Linked DNA regions of Homo sapiens: regions 1 and 2 are each linked to region 3. The links are contacts of gene promoters, found by promoter capture Hi-C in blood cells and fetal thymus (Javierre and others, 2016). All regions are on one chromosome and are shown on one strand. The core of a region is centred on a gene start or on the middle of the fragment in contact, and the rest is flanking DNA. Distances in the headings are between cores, read along the strand shown.

The links. Contacts are between HindIII fragments. The CHiCAGO score rates a contact against its expected background, and 5 or more counts as called.
Region 1: a contact is called between a fragment that was not itself captured here and the fragment with the promoter of RBP5 in region 3, in 2 of 17 cell types (M1 macrophages and M0 macrophages). The highest score is 6.6, in M1 macrophages.
Region 2: the fragment with the promoter of MRPL51 here is called in contact with the fragment with the promoter of RBP5 in region 3 in 2 of 17 cell types (activated CD4 T cells and naive CD4 T cells); the score reaches 8.2 in activated CD4 T cells.

The regions. Positions count from the first base shown.
Region 1 is chr12:7,650,827-7,655,196 of GRCh38, forward strand. It overlaps APOBEC1 (apolipoprotein B mRNA editing enzyme catalytic subunit 1), which reads right to left. Exons shown (of 5, transcript NM_001644.5): 2 at 3,779-3,806; 3 at 1,612-2,009; 4 at 197-315. Among named protein-coding and RNA genes, the nearest start is that of APOBEC1, 13 kb to the right of the region's middle. The HindIII fragment of the contact is 3,129 bases long and covers 1-3,126 here.
Region 2 is chr12:6,490,785-6,495,186 of GRCh38, forward strand. It overlaps MRPL51 (mitochondrial ribosomal protein L51), which reads right to left and starts at 2,478. Exons shown (of 3, transcript NM_016497.4): 1 at 2,274-2,478; 2 at 2,078-2,188; 3 at 1,102-1,683. The coding sequence starts at 2,352. The coding sequence ends at 1,487. It overlaps NCAPD2 (non-SMC condensin I complex subunit D2), which reads left to right and starts at 3,318. Exons shown (of 32, transcript NM_014865.4): 1 at 3,318-3,370; 2 at 4,292-4,402. The coding sequence starts at 4,315. RefSeq lists enhancers at 2,696-2,745, 2,913-3,510 and a silencer at 2,946-3,275. The HindIII fragment of the contact is 4,003 bases long and covers 2,283-4,402 here.
Region 3 is chr12:7,125,992-7,130,610 of GRCh38, forward strand. RBP5 (retinol binding protein 5) reads right to left here and starts at 2,898. Exons shown (of 4, transcript NM_031491.4): 1 at 2,712-2,898; 2 at 2,249-2,427. The coding sequence starts at 2,784. It overlaps CLSTN3 (calsyntenin 3), which reads left to right and starts at 4,380. Exons shown (of 18, transcript NM_014718.4): 1 at 4,380-4,619. RefSeq lists a silencer at 4,137-4,236. The HindIII fragment of the contact is 14,463 bases long and covers 1-4,619 here.

The sequences.
Region 1 (4,370 bases), core at 312-2,811, 520 kb after region 3:
TTCCTGCGTAGCTGGGACTACAAGTGTGCACCACCATACCTGGCTCTGAGATTTTCTTAAGAGGAGCTAGCTAGTTAAATAACTAAATCTCAATATAAATGTCAAAAAGAAGATATGAGTCAAATTTTCTCAGGAAAGACCTTTGAAGAAGGATGCTTCTTTTTGCATCAACATTTGTGTCCCTAAAGTGACTTACTAGAATTATGCAGTGCAGCTCCAGTGCGTACAACATCATCCACAGAGGTGGGTATTGTGGCCAGTGAGCTTCATCCCCAGGTGGGTAGTTGACAAAATTCCTCCAGCAGTGATAATACTCTAAGGAAACACAAATCTTGGCTCATTCAACAAGCACAATGGTAAATTACTTAAGAAGATCCCCAACCTAGCTTCCCGTATAGAAAGCCTGTAGTCTCTAGTCTAGTTGCTGCTGGACATTAGACCCCCTAAAAAGAATAAAGCAGTTCATTTAAAGATGGCTGAGAGGCAAGACTAGAGAAAAGAGTTGTTGGCTGGGTGCGGTGGCTCACGCCTGTAATCCCAGCACTTTGGGAGGCCGAGGGGGGTGGATCACAGGTCAGGAGATCGAGACCATCCTGCCTAACACAGTGAAACCCCGTCTCTACTAAAAATACAAAAAATTAGCCGGGCGTGGTGGTGGGCGCCTGTAGTCCCAGCTACTGGGGAGGCTGAGGCAGGAGAATGGCGTGAACCCCAGGTGGAGCTTGCAGTGAGTCGAGATTGCACCACTGCACTCCAGCCTGGGCGAAAGAGCAAGACTCCGTCTCAAAAAAAAAAAAAAAAAAGAGTTGTTGTTTGTTTTTGTTTTTGTTTTTTGATACAGGGTTTCGCTCTGTCACCTAGGCCAGTGTGCAGTGGTCCAATCATAGCTCACTGCAGCCTTGAACTTCTGGGCTCAGGAGATCTTCCTACCTCAGCCTTTAAAGGTGTATGCTGCCATGCCTGTCTGATTTTTTTATTTTATTTTTTATTTTATTTTATTTTATTTTATCTTGAGACGGAGTCTCGCTCTGTCGCCCAGGCTGGAGTGCAGTGGCGCGATCTCGGCTCACTGCAAGCTCCGCCTCCCGGGTTCACGCCATTCTCCTGCCTCAGCCTCCCGAGTAGCTGGGACTACAGGCGCCCGCCACCACGCCTGGCTAATTTTTTTGTATTTTTTAGTAGAGACGGGGTTTCACCGTGTTAGCCAGGATGGTCTCCATCTCCTGATCTCATGATCCGCCCACCTCGGCCTCCCAAAGTGCTGGGATTACAGGCGTGAGCCACCGCACCTGGCCGGATTTTTAAATTTTTTTTAGAGATGGGGTCTCACTATGTTGCCCAGGCTGATCTTGAACCCCTGGCTTCAAGTGATCCTCCTGCCTTGGCCTCCCAAAGTTCTGGGATTATAGGCATGAGCCACCATGCGTAGCCAGGAGTTGTATTTTTGTAACTTTCCTTGTCATGAATTTCAGACCTAGTCCTTTATGACATTATTTTGGACTTTTACTTCTGAGACTTCCAGCCTGGGCTAACCAATCTTCTGGCCTAAAAACAGCTACTATCACCACAGTCTGTTGTAAACAATGAAGTTTCTTTGTTTACTGTTTTTACCTGATGCTCTCATAATCTGAATAGTTACTCCACTGTTAACAAGGTCCCTGAGACCTTGCCGATTTTGTTGATCCATGTGCCAAAAAAGCCGAGCTACGTAGATCACTAGAGTCACACCAGGGTGCCGACTCAGAAACTCTCTAATAGCCTGGGAGCATTCCCAGCAGGGACTCCAGGACAAGAACCAGGTGATGGAGCAGCTCATGGATGGGTGAAAATCTCTTTCTGACGTAAATTTTTTTATAAAATTAACTTCCACGTGATTGGTGGTGTTTTTGCCTGAGCTTCGCCAGATCTTCCGGCTCATGCCCCACTTGATTTCGTAGAGCAGACAGGCCTCTTTACGAAGTTCTCTGGGGTCATAGAAGACGTCAAACTCCCAGGGTTCGATTCTTCTCCTGAAATACAAAAAGCAGCCCACACTGTCATGCCACATTTAGAGAGATCTTAGAAATCTTTTCCTGCTCCCCTCTTCTTTTTTTATTTTATTTTATTTTATTTTATTTTTTTAAGATGGAGTCTCACACTGTTGCCCAGACTGGAGTGCAGTGGTGCAATCTCAGCTCACCACAACCTCCACCTCCCAGGTTCAAGCGATTTTTCTGCCTCAACTTCCCAAGTAGCTGGGATTACAGGCTCCCGCCACCATGTCCAGCTAATTTTTTTGTATTTTTAGTAGAGACGGGGTTTCACCATGTTGGCCAGGCTGGTCTCAAACTCCTGACCTTGTGATTCGCCCACCTCAGCCTCCCAAAGTGCTGGGATTACAGGCGTGAGCCACCACGCCCAGCCTCTGCTCCCCTCTTCTATCAGGCTGATCTGAGACATAACATCTCAGGAAACTTCTTTTTCTAGTATATGTCTCAAAGTTATCTGAAGAGGTCTGTTTGAATTATCAGATTTTTTTTTCTCACAAACATAGTGCACAGGTTTCTTCCCCCAGTCACATTATTTGGTGACCACTCTCTAATACCATTATGTTTTAGTCTTGAATTCAGGTGTAAGCGTGTCTTTGTTTCTCTTTTAAATTTTCCTTCATTATATTCTAACCCTTTTTTTTTTTTTTTTTTTTTAAGACATGGTCTCTCTAAGCTGGCCAGCCTGATCTCCCCTTCCTGGACTCAAGCTACTCTCCTGCCTCAGCCTCCTGAGTAGCTGAGACCACAGGTGTGCCCCACCATGCCTAGCTATATTCTAACTTTTCTATTTTACACCTAGAGGTGCTATGTTCCAATCCTTATCTTTTCTATTCCTCAATGGACTCTAACCAGATTTTCTCAAGTGTTGACGCCTCAAATTGCCAACAAGATTGTATTGTCAAGAACAGACAAAAGAGCAATTTAGCCTCAAGATTCTTCCACATTAGGATTCTATATACTAACTCCTATAAGAAAGAAATTCTACTTGCTCTCAGTGGTGTCTTTAGATTTAACACTCTCTATGTCTGAAAGCTGTAACTCAAGGGAAACTCAGAATTGAACTGCAGACTCTTCTTTGCAATATGGTTAAGTCACAAGCTTATTACATCCTAATAGTTCCCACTCATCCCTAAAGTATCACATTCATTTACTACATAGATCAATCCTTCCACCTATCAAGAGATAATATATTCCTTAACATGACTTCCCTGTCCTATGTCTGAAAAATGGGCAGACATTATAAAACGAAGATGAAGTTAAAGTGACAAATGAGTTTCCCAGGTATTTCACTAATGGCTATAAAAGCATGCGATTTAAAAAAAGAAGAGAAATTGTAAGACAATAACAGATAAGCAAGCTAGAAAATCATTTATTTAAAGAGATCAAAAGACATAAGAGCAAAGATATAAAAAACAATAACCATAGAAAATGAAACTGGAAAAGGCAAAAATGAAAGAAAGAATGGAAAATGGCAAAAGAGAAAAGGAACAATAAAGAAAGCTATATCCACAGTTCCTTTTTTTTTTTTTTTTTGAGACAGGGTCTCAGTCTGTTACCCCGGCTGCAGTGCAGTGGTGCAATCATAGCTCACTGCAGCCTTGACCTCCTGGGCTCAAGCGATCCTCCTACTCCTGCCTCAGCCTCCTGAGTAGCTGGGATTATAGGCGCATGTGCCACCATGCACAGCTCTTAAATACCCATTGATTCTTGATCAAATTAAATGGGCACTGTGATAGTGTTATTCTTACCTCAGAGTGGGGTCACCGGTTGAAGGACCTGTTGACCAAGATATGATTATGTCAAACAACACTCAAATATCAAATGAGTTGCTAAGAAAAAGTGCTCTATTATTCCAAACCTCCAAATCATCTCAGAAAATGGAATTTGAAGATTCTCTCATGGATTAATTGTATTGGACCAGCTCATTGTACCCAAGAAAAGCAAGATTTTTAAGGACTCTGCCAAAATCTCTTTTCCCAGATGCCCAATCCCAAACAAGGTAGTCTGCCTTAAGGCTTCAACAAAAATGATTAAGCACAATGGGAAAGTCACTTCTTAAAGCCTCTTAGAGGCCGGGTGCGGTGGCTCACGCCTGTAATTCTAGCACTTTGGGAGACCGAGGCAGGTGGTTCACCTGAGGTCAGGAGTTTGAGACCAGCCTGGCCAACATGGTGAAACCCTGTCTCTACCAAAAATACAAAAATTAGCCAGGTGTGATTGCGGGCACCTATAATCCCAGCTACTCGGGTGGCTGAGGCAGGAGAATCACTTGAACCTGGGGAGAGGAGGTTGCAGTGAGCCAAGATCGCACCATTGCACTCCAGCCTGGGCAAAAGAGCA
Region 2 (4,402 bases), core at 1,228-3,727, 640 kb before region 3:
TATTAATCTAACTTCACTTTTATGGAGTTTTTGTTTTTTAAAATATAGAGATGGGGTCTTGCTATGTTGCCCAGGCTGGTCTTGAACTCCTGGCTTCAAGCAATCCTCATGCCTTGGCCTCCCAAAGTGTTGGGCTTACAGGTGTGAGCCACTGCACCCAGCCCTAACTTCACTTTTTTTTTTTTTTTTTTTTTGAGACAGTCTCACCCCAGTTGCTCAGGCTGGAATGCAGTGGCATGATCTCAGCTCACTGCAGCCTCAAACTCCTGGGCTCAGGTGATCTTCCCACCTCAGCCTCTTGTGTAGCTGGGACTGCAGGCACGCAGAACCATGAGTAGCTGGAACTACAGGCATGCAGAACCATGCCCAGCTAAGTTGTTTTTTTTTTTTTTTTGAGACAGAGTCTTGCTCTGTTGCTCAGGCTGGAGTGCAGTGGCACGATCTCGGCTCACTGCAAGCTCCACCTCCCAGGTTCAAGTGATTCTCCTGCCTCAGACACCTGAGTAGCTGGGACTACAGGTGTCCGCCACCACTCCTGGCTAATTTTTTTGTTTGTTTGTTTTTGTATTTTCAGTAGAGACAGGGCTGTGTTAGCCAGGATAGTCTCGATCTCCTGAGCTCGTGGTCCGCCCCCCTCCGCCTCCCAAGGTGCTGGGATTACAGGCAGGAGCCACCGCACCCAGCCACTTTATTTTTAGTAGAGACGGAGTTTCACCATGTCGCCCAGACCAGTCTCAAATTCCTGTCTCCAAGCAATCCTCCCACCTCAGCCTCCCAAAATGCTGGGATTACATGTGGGCACCATTCTGCCCAGCTGTAATTCTTAAAAATTATTATTAAAAAAGAACAAAACACATAGATGCCCTAGACTCAACTCAGCTCTACTGATCAATCTTTAGGGGTTAGGACTAGGCTTTTGAAATGTTAAAACACCCAGAAAACTGATGACCAGTCAGGCTTAGTATCCGCCATCTCTACCATTCATATGGTACTTAATGTTTCATATTTAAATGGAAAGGACACCTCACACTTTTTTGTTTTTCCTATAGTTCCTACTCAGAGAATATGCCTAATAAATATTTTATGAGAGTAGTACAGAAGTATGACTCCATTTTTCTCTTATATTTCATTTCAGTGTGGAAGGCTCTTTAGAAACACTATTAACATAACAGCATTATGTCAAAAAGCGCCAATAACATTCTCACCAACTTTTCTTTTTAAAGGAATTAGGTATAGCTAGACTGTAAAAGGCAAGTGGTGTGAAGCCCAAACCTAAGATCCTAAGATCTAGGATGAGTCAAGACTTCATAGTCTACATGAGTAGAGGCAGCATCTAGAGGAAAACAAAAGTATGTGGCTATCAAATTCCAAAGAAGCCCCATTTTATTACAGAGAAAATACAAAGCCGTTTCCTCACAGGGAAAAGTACAGTTTCCCTTCTCCAGGGTGACAGATGAGCCTTTTCCGAAGTTCTCAGCTTTCTCTTCTATCGAAACTTCCCATGTCGGTTAAAGTGTTTGTAGAGATAGCGGATGCGTTTATTAAGGTTGTGCAGGTCATCAGCGAACATTCTACTTCCAACCATTTTCCTCTTTCGGATACAACGTTGCAATTCATTCCCTTTCCAACCTCGAAGCCATATGGGCCCCCTGATCAGTTCTTTGGGGTGCTTTTCAAAGTTTCCTGTGTAATGTGAGAGAACACATTAGATCCAAGACAAGAGAACTCATCCTACACCAGCTAAGCTTTCAACCCACGGTTGCATCTTGCTGAGCAGCACCTATAGACAAGGAACATTACAGTACAGAACAATAGCACAGACTCTGGAGCCAGACTGCTTGGGGTTAAAATTCTGATGCTGCCATTTATTAACTTTGGAAAAACTGTTTATTTTTACTTATGAAGTAAAAATTATACGAGGGGACTCAGAACAGTGCCAAACACAATGTAAACAGCTACATAAGTGTTTGCTCTTACTATTGAGCACAGTACCACTCTCTACACAGGAGGAAAAGATAGTCGTTACAGCCTAATTGCCATTCTGAAATTGTGTACCACGTCGAAGGTCAAGTCTTACCCAGGATCCCGATGTTGTCATACACTCCGAACATGGCCCTTTTCTCGTTCCAACGATCAACCACTTTGGGGGGCGGGAGAGTGAGCCTTATACCGATCAATCTAGGCACACCTGGGGATGGGGAAGGGAGGGAATTAATCTGAGCCGCCTATTATACTACGAAGCAGTTATCGGGGTGCCTACATCAGCCACTTACCAAGAGAGAAGCTTCTGCACGCCAGAGGCACCCAGTCCCACAGGCGCCTACCTGCCCCGGATAAGAGGTTCCCTGCCATTTCTCTAGTCTCCCCCCTTCAACAGCACACCAAATAAGCCCAAGAAGATGACAGGAACCGTCCCCGCCAACTTCACACGAGTACTAAGGCGAAGACAGCCATCTTGGGCCTTACCCAGGCAGCTGTGGGCGCACCGCCCACCTACGCCCCATCCGCAACAGCCACGAGCCCCGCCCCCCGGGTTCCGGCAGGAGGGGCCTCTACCACCCTTCCCGCCTCAGTGCTTCCGGTCCGCCTGCCGGAAGTTTTGGAGCGCCGGACAAGCTGAGGTCCGCGACTCGTCGCTAAGATTCCCCAAAACTGAGATTTCAAGAAAATTCACCCTTTCCGCTTTCTTTGGCGTCCTTCAACCGTGAAGGAAATGAAGGTTGAGAACCTGGAACCCGCTTCCAATGACCAAGCCCTTTCTCTGTGCCTCACAACAGTCTTCCGCTGTAGCTGTTTTTATTACCCCTATTTTACTACTGGGGAGGAGATTTGAGGTCCTGAAAGTGAAGTGACTTGCTGGACGTCACTTAGCAGAGGAGATGGCGAAACCTGGATTAGAGGCGATGCCTTCTAACTCCCAGCGTGGACTTGCCTCCTTTCCTGGGGGTGACTGAATGCCCAGCCAGGGACGCGACGTCTCTGGCCAGCAGAAATACGGCCTCCTCCCCGCCGACTGGGCAAAGGGGGACCTTGCGGCCAAGGAGGGATTCGCAGGCGGGCCGGGGGTGGGAGCGGGGGCCGGAGCCGGAGCCTTGGCCCGCCCCCGGGCGGCGCTGTGATTGGCCGGCCGCTCCGGCGGGCGTCGCGATTGGCCGTCCTGCAGCCGTTGAGATTTGAACTCGGTATTTGTGGCTTTGCCCGCGCGTTGCCAGACTCAGAGGCGGCCCTTTGCCTCTGCCTGCCGGGGATTGGCCGGATTCTCCGCCGACTTGAAAACTGCCTTGCTAATTGGTGCGTGTTGTGCACGCGTGTTTTTTCCTTTTCATTTCAGCCTGACTGCCGGAATCAGAGCCGCGGGTGAGATCCCCAGGTAAGATGTGGTGTTGCAGGTCGTAAAAGAGTAGGAAAGTCGAGTACATGGCAGTGTGACCCAGTCTTGGGCAAAATACAATAGGCCTAGTAAGTATATCCCTGGGGCGCGATGTGTGAGAAACTGTAAGTCTGACAGATCCGCAACGGAAGTTGTTAAGCAAATCGCTTAACAGATCCGCAACGGAAGATGTTAAGCAAATCGCTTAACAGATCCGCAACGGAAGATGTTAAGCAAATCGCTTAACTTTCTTACTTCAATTTCCGCTCTGTAAACTCATTTGTATTATTATGCACCTCATGGGATTGAGGTTAGGATACTTAGATCAGATATGATACATGCAAACAGCCTAACAGACTTGGCACAGGATAAATAAATCATCATTGTTAATGCTCTTACCATTCTGGTGCAGGAAGCCCACTAGCCCATGCTGGGGCACTGTTTTGGCCTCAGACGAGATCAGACCATTCTCTCTATACTTAAGGAGCTTTGCACATAAAAATGGAAATAATAGTACTTTGCACATTAATATGCCACTTTATAGTTCTTTAAACACCTTCGTACTGCTTGATTTGTTTGATCATCAGAGCAACTTTGTGAAGTAATCAGAGTTTAGTAACCCTGTTTTTACAGATAAAGCCCAGAGGTTTAAGTGTCAAGACCAAGTGCCAAAGTCACTACTAGAATTAGTTTCTAGTCCAGGGTCAATCTCAGATCCCGTAAGATAATGTTACTAGCTTGCTATAAAACTAAAAACCATTATATATGTTGGGGGTGGGGAACTAACAAAACCAGATGATGTTACTAGCTTGCTATAAAACTAAAAGCCATTATATATGTTGGGGATGGGAAAGTAATAGAACCAGATACGAAGACAGGTCTTGAATATAGACCCTGACTTTTTCACTGTTTGGTTTCTAGCCCTGTGAGCCTGTAGGAGTAGAATGGCTCCCCAAATGTATGAGTTCCATCTGCCATTATCCCCAGAGGAGTTGTTGAAAAGTGGAGGGGTGAATCAGTATGTTGTGCAAG
Region 3 (4,619 bases), core at 1,648-4,147:
GAGGCTGAGGCGGGAGAATCACTTGAAGTCAAGAGTTTGAGACCAGCCTGGGCAACACAGTGAGACCCCACCTCTACCAAAAAAAAAAAAACACAAAAACACAAAAAAGCAATTTCAGGCACCAGGAAATGAAGGCCTGAATTAGGGTGGTGATAGAGAAAGGTTAGGAGGGAACACAGGAGAGCCATTTAGAAGAGTGATGCTCAACAGAAATAAAATGGGTCAGGAGCCATATTAGAAAAGTAAAGAGAAATAGGGGAAATTAATTTAAATAATATATTTTAGTTAACCAAAAATATTCAAAATATTATTATTTCGGCATGCAGCCAATATAAACATTTCCGAAATGCTTCTTTTTATTTGGCATTGTCTGAAAGTCCACTTACAGCATCTAGATTTGGACTAGTTATATTTCAAGTATTCAACGGCCATCTGAAGTTAGCAGCTGCTATACTGGGTAATGCAGAAAAGCTACAAAGATTTCTTGGCCGATTAGATGTGGTGGTGGTGGTGGTGGTGGTGTGTGTGTGTGTGTGTGTGTGTGTGTGTGTGTGTGTGTGTGTGTGTGCTGGGAGCCTAGAGGTAAGGAAACAAGAGATATTGACCATGACTCCCAGGTCTCTGGCCTGGCTGGTTATTGCCATTAGTGGAGAGAGTAGATATAAAAGTGGGGTAGGTTTGGATAGGAAGACAGTGAATTTGAATTTGACCTTGGCATTCAAATGGAAATTGGTTCCAGGACCCCCACCTCACTAAATCTGCTGAATAAAATGGCTTAGTATCTGTAGAGAAACTACATACATCCCCCTGTGTACTTTATTATTATCATTTTGATACAGAGTCTTGCTCTGTCACCCAGACTAGAATGCAATGGCATGATCTTGGCTCACTGCAACCTCTGGCTCCCGGGTTCAAGTAATTCTCCTGCCTCAGCCTCCCAAGTAGCTGGGATTACAGGCATGCGCCACCATGCCCGGCTAATTTTTGTACTTTTGTATTTTTTTTTTTTTTTTTTTTTGAGATAGAATTTCGCTCTTGTTGCCCAGGCTGGAGTGCAGTGGTGCGATCTTGGCTCACTGCAACCTCTGCCTCCCAGGTTCAAGTGATTCTTCTGCCTCAGCCTCCTGAGTAGCTGGGATTACAGGCATGCGCCACCATGCCTGCCTAATTTTTTGTATTTTTAGTAGAGATGGGGTTTCTCCATGTTGGTCAGGCTGGTCTCGAACTCTTGACCTCAGGTGATCCGCCCGCCTTGGCCTCCCAAAGTACTGGGATTACAGGTGTGAGCCACTGCACCTGGCCTAATTTATGTATTTTTAGTAGAGATGAGGTTTCACCATGTTGGCCAGGCTGGTCTTGAACTCCTGGCCTCAAGTGATCTGCCTGCCTCAGCCTCCCAAAGTCTTGGGATTATGGGTGTGAGCCACCACGCCCAGCCTTTTCCCATATGCTTTAAATCATCTCTAGATTACTTATAATACCTAATGCAATGTACATGCTCTGTAAATAGTTGCTATACTGTATTGTTTTTTATTTGTATCATTTTGTATTGTTATTTTTTATTTTTATTTTTCCCAAATATTTTTCCATTTGCAGTTTGCTGAAGCTGTGGATGCAGAACCCATGAATATGGAGGGCCAACTGTATTTTGTAGGCAGTTGAAAACATTGCCCTGGAGCTCAGGAGATGGCTCTGGCTGGAGAATTCATGCCAAGGGCAGCCTATAGATGGAAGCAGAAGGCATGGGTGTAGATGATTTAGCCTATGGATAGTGGGCAGACAAAAGGGAGAAGACATTAAGAACAAAACTCTGCGGAGAAAACTCCAGTTTAAAGGATTAATAGGAGGACTAGGATCTGCAAAGGAGGCTAAGAAGGAATATGTAAGAAGTAGAAAGAAATGCAGGAGAGTGAAGTTATTGATGCTAAAGTAAAAGGGACTCTGGGTGACCAACAGTGTCACAGGCTGGAGGGTGGGCAAATGTTTGCTCTTCGGTCTGGGTTGGCCTGTTCTTTGCCCTTTGGGCTGGTGATAAGAGGGGGCAGGGAAGAAGTGGGAGAGAGACAGGGAGCACCAGGACCTGTTAGTTCTGGAGACTGGTATCCTGGGGACTGCATTCCCTGCTGTGGTGACCATTCCCCTCCTCCCCGCTGCTCTGGCTGGGGAAGGTCACTTTGTTTTGCCCCATGTTGTTAGGAGTCTCCTGTGATGCCTCCTTCCGGCCACCGCCCAGCCAGGGGAAATGTACCTGGCATTTTCGTCCGTCCACGCTCCTGAGGTCCTCCTCAAACTCCACTCCCACATCAAACTGCACAGTGTAGTTTCGGAAGGTGCTGAGCGTCCTCACCGTCATGTGGTTGCCCTGGTGTTCGATCTCCTTGTCCGGCTTCAGCAGCAGCGCGATCTTCCGCACAGCCAAGCTGATGTCTGTGGGGGCTGCCTGTTAGTAGGGGTGCTGCTAGCCAGCCAGGAGCTCCTCTGCCTGCAGCAGCCCCTCAGGGCTGTGAGTTTCCCTTCTTTGGGTCTGGGACTGTGGATTCACCCCCTCCTACCAATGCCTGGTTAGAAATGGATCCCAGGTCTGGTGCCAGCCGCCTGAGCCTTTCCACAGTGTCCAACCCCGGGCATTCCCTCTTCTCCATGGGACCAAGAAGCAGGAAGGAAGAGGGGAGAAAGGGAGTGACAGGGGTCTGGGAGGGCGAGGCCATTACTTAGGGCTTGCAGGTAGTCCTCCATGTTCTTCTGCGAGACAAAGCGGTAGTAGCCAGTGAGGTTGGGAGGCATTGTGTGGATGAAGGTTTCAGGAGAATGCAGGAGACAGGGTGAGGAAGGAGGGGGTGTTGTCTGGCAGGTGAGGCTGAGAGATTCCAGCCAGCTCCACACACAGAGACAGGATGTGTAATGGCCGGGTTACCAGGGCTTTTTATAAGGCTGGGGCCCTGTTGCAATAAGAGTCCCTACCAGACTTCTTCCCTCCCCGCATGGTGAGTTTGGGGGTGGTGTCTCCAGCCTGAAGGAGGGGCAGGGATTTGGCAAAGTTGCGCCTGACCTTGGCTTTTCCTGAGGAAGGAACCTGGAGCAGGATCCTTCCTGAGGAAGGAACCTGGAGCAGGATCTGGGGCTGTCAGTCATCCAAAACTCAGCCATCCAAAGGTCAGTGTTGGCCTCCACCTCATTTCTGGCAGGCTTGGGAACCGTCCCAGGGCCTGAGGGGCAGTCTTTCCTGGGAGACACCTGAGGCTGGTCTGGCTGTGTGAGGTGGAGATGAGTTCCAACAATATCCTGAGATCCTGGGACTGAGTGATGTTGGAAGATGTGAGGGGAGGGGGTGAGGATGGCCAGCTGCCACCATGAAGAGCACCCTGTAGGCCTGGCTCTCAGAGCTCCCTCAGGTAGTGTGCTCAACTGGGACCCCAAAGTGGCATTCCAGACTCTTGGTCCTAAAGAGCCATTAGGAGGGAGGTGGAGCCCGAGGGGTGCTGAGTTCAAAGTCCGGAACAGACAGCCTGAGAGGAGTTTGTTGGCTATTCTGGAGAATTTTATTCTTTTTGGCTTGGGACCCAGGGGGTTTTCTCTCCCTCTGAGTCATCGATGAGACCGTAACCCCCAGTCCCCAGCCCTAGGACAGCCCATGCTTTCCAGATGTATTTCTGTGAAGGTGGGGTGGAGGCGCCTAAATAATATTGTGCCCCGCCCCCAGCTGCCCAATTCTCTCTCGAACCTGCCATCGTCCCGGGCTTCAGAATCCACTGGGCTTGGTTCATCATGGTTTAAGGTGAAATTCGGGGCGAAGGAGGCAGGACAGGTAGGCAGGAGGAGGCGGCCGGTCCCGACAGGTGCGTGCGCGAGGGGTGCACGACGTCCTGCCCCTCCTTGGGTCCCAGAGCCTCGATACCGCCCTGCGGACCGCCCTGTGGCTTCCTCGCAGCCCTGGGCTACAAATGCCAGGATTTCTCAGGCTCAGACTGAGGGTTTTACTTCACCCTTCCCAGAGGGCACGCAGCACGGATCTGTGGATGGAAGGGGCTGTGGAAACAGGTTATGGCAGAGTTGGGGGGCGGGGTGACGCGGTGCCACCCCTCCTGGCCGCCCTCAGGTCCCGCTGACGTCTCTCTTCCCCACCCCCTGGCTTCTGGCTTCTTTCTCCCCACGTCCCTCTTCTTTCCCACCCCCTCCGTGGCTCTCCAGCTTCCTCCCCAGCCCCCGCAGTTCCTCGGCTCCCCCAAAATTGCAGCCAGGGGAAGGAGCCTTGAAACTCTCCAGCCCCGACGCCCCAGTCTCATTGGCTCCCTCCCCCGCTGCAGCACCTGGTCCCCCCCCCTCCCAGTCACCTGATTGGCCGGCGGCCCCATCAATCGTTGCCCGGCTGTGCTGACGTCATCCTGCAGTAGCGGGGTTGGGGTGGGAGTGAGAGAGTGAGGACGCTGGGCTGGGGGAAACGGGAAGCCGCTGCAAGTCCACCGCCTCAGCTACCCAGATTGGGATCTGCCCAGGCCCGCTTTATGGACTAGTGTGGGCGGCAGGCTCCTTTCCGTCCCTGCCCTGCTGTACCCCGCTCCTTGGAGACCCCCTGTATCCCTCCCGCAAGGTGGAATCCGCAGGCTGGAGGCTCCCAGGGG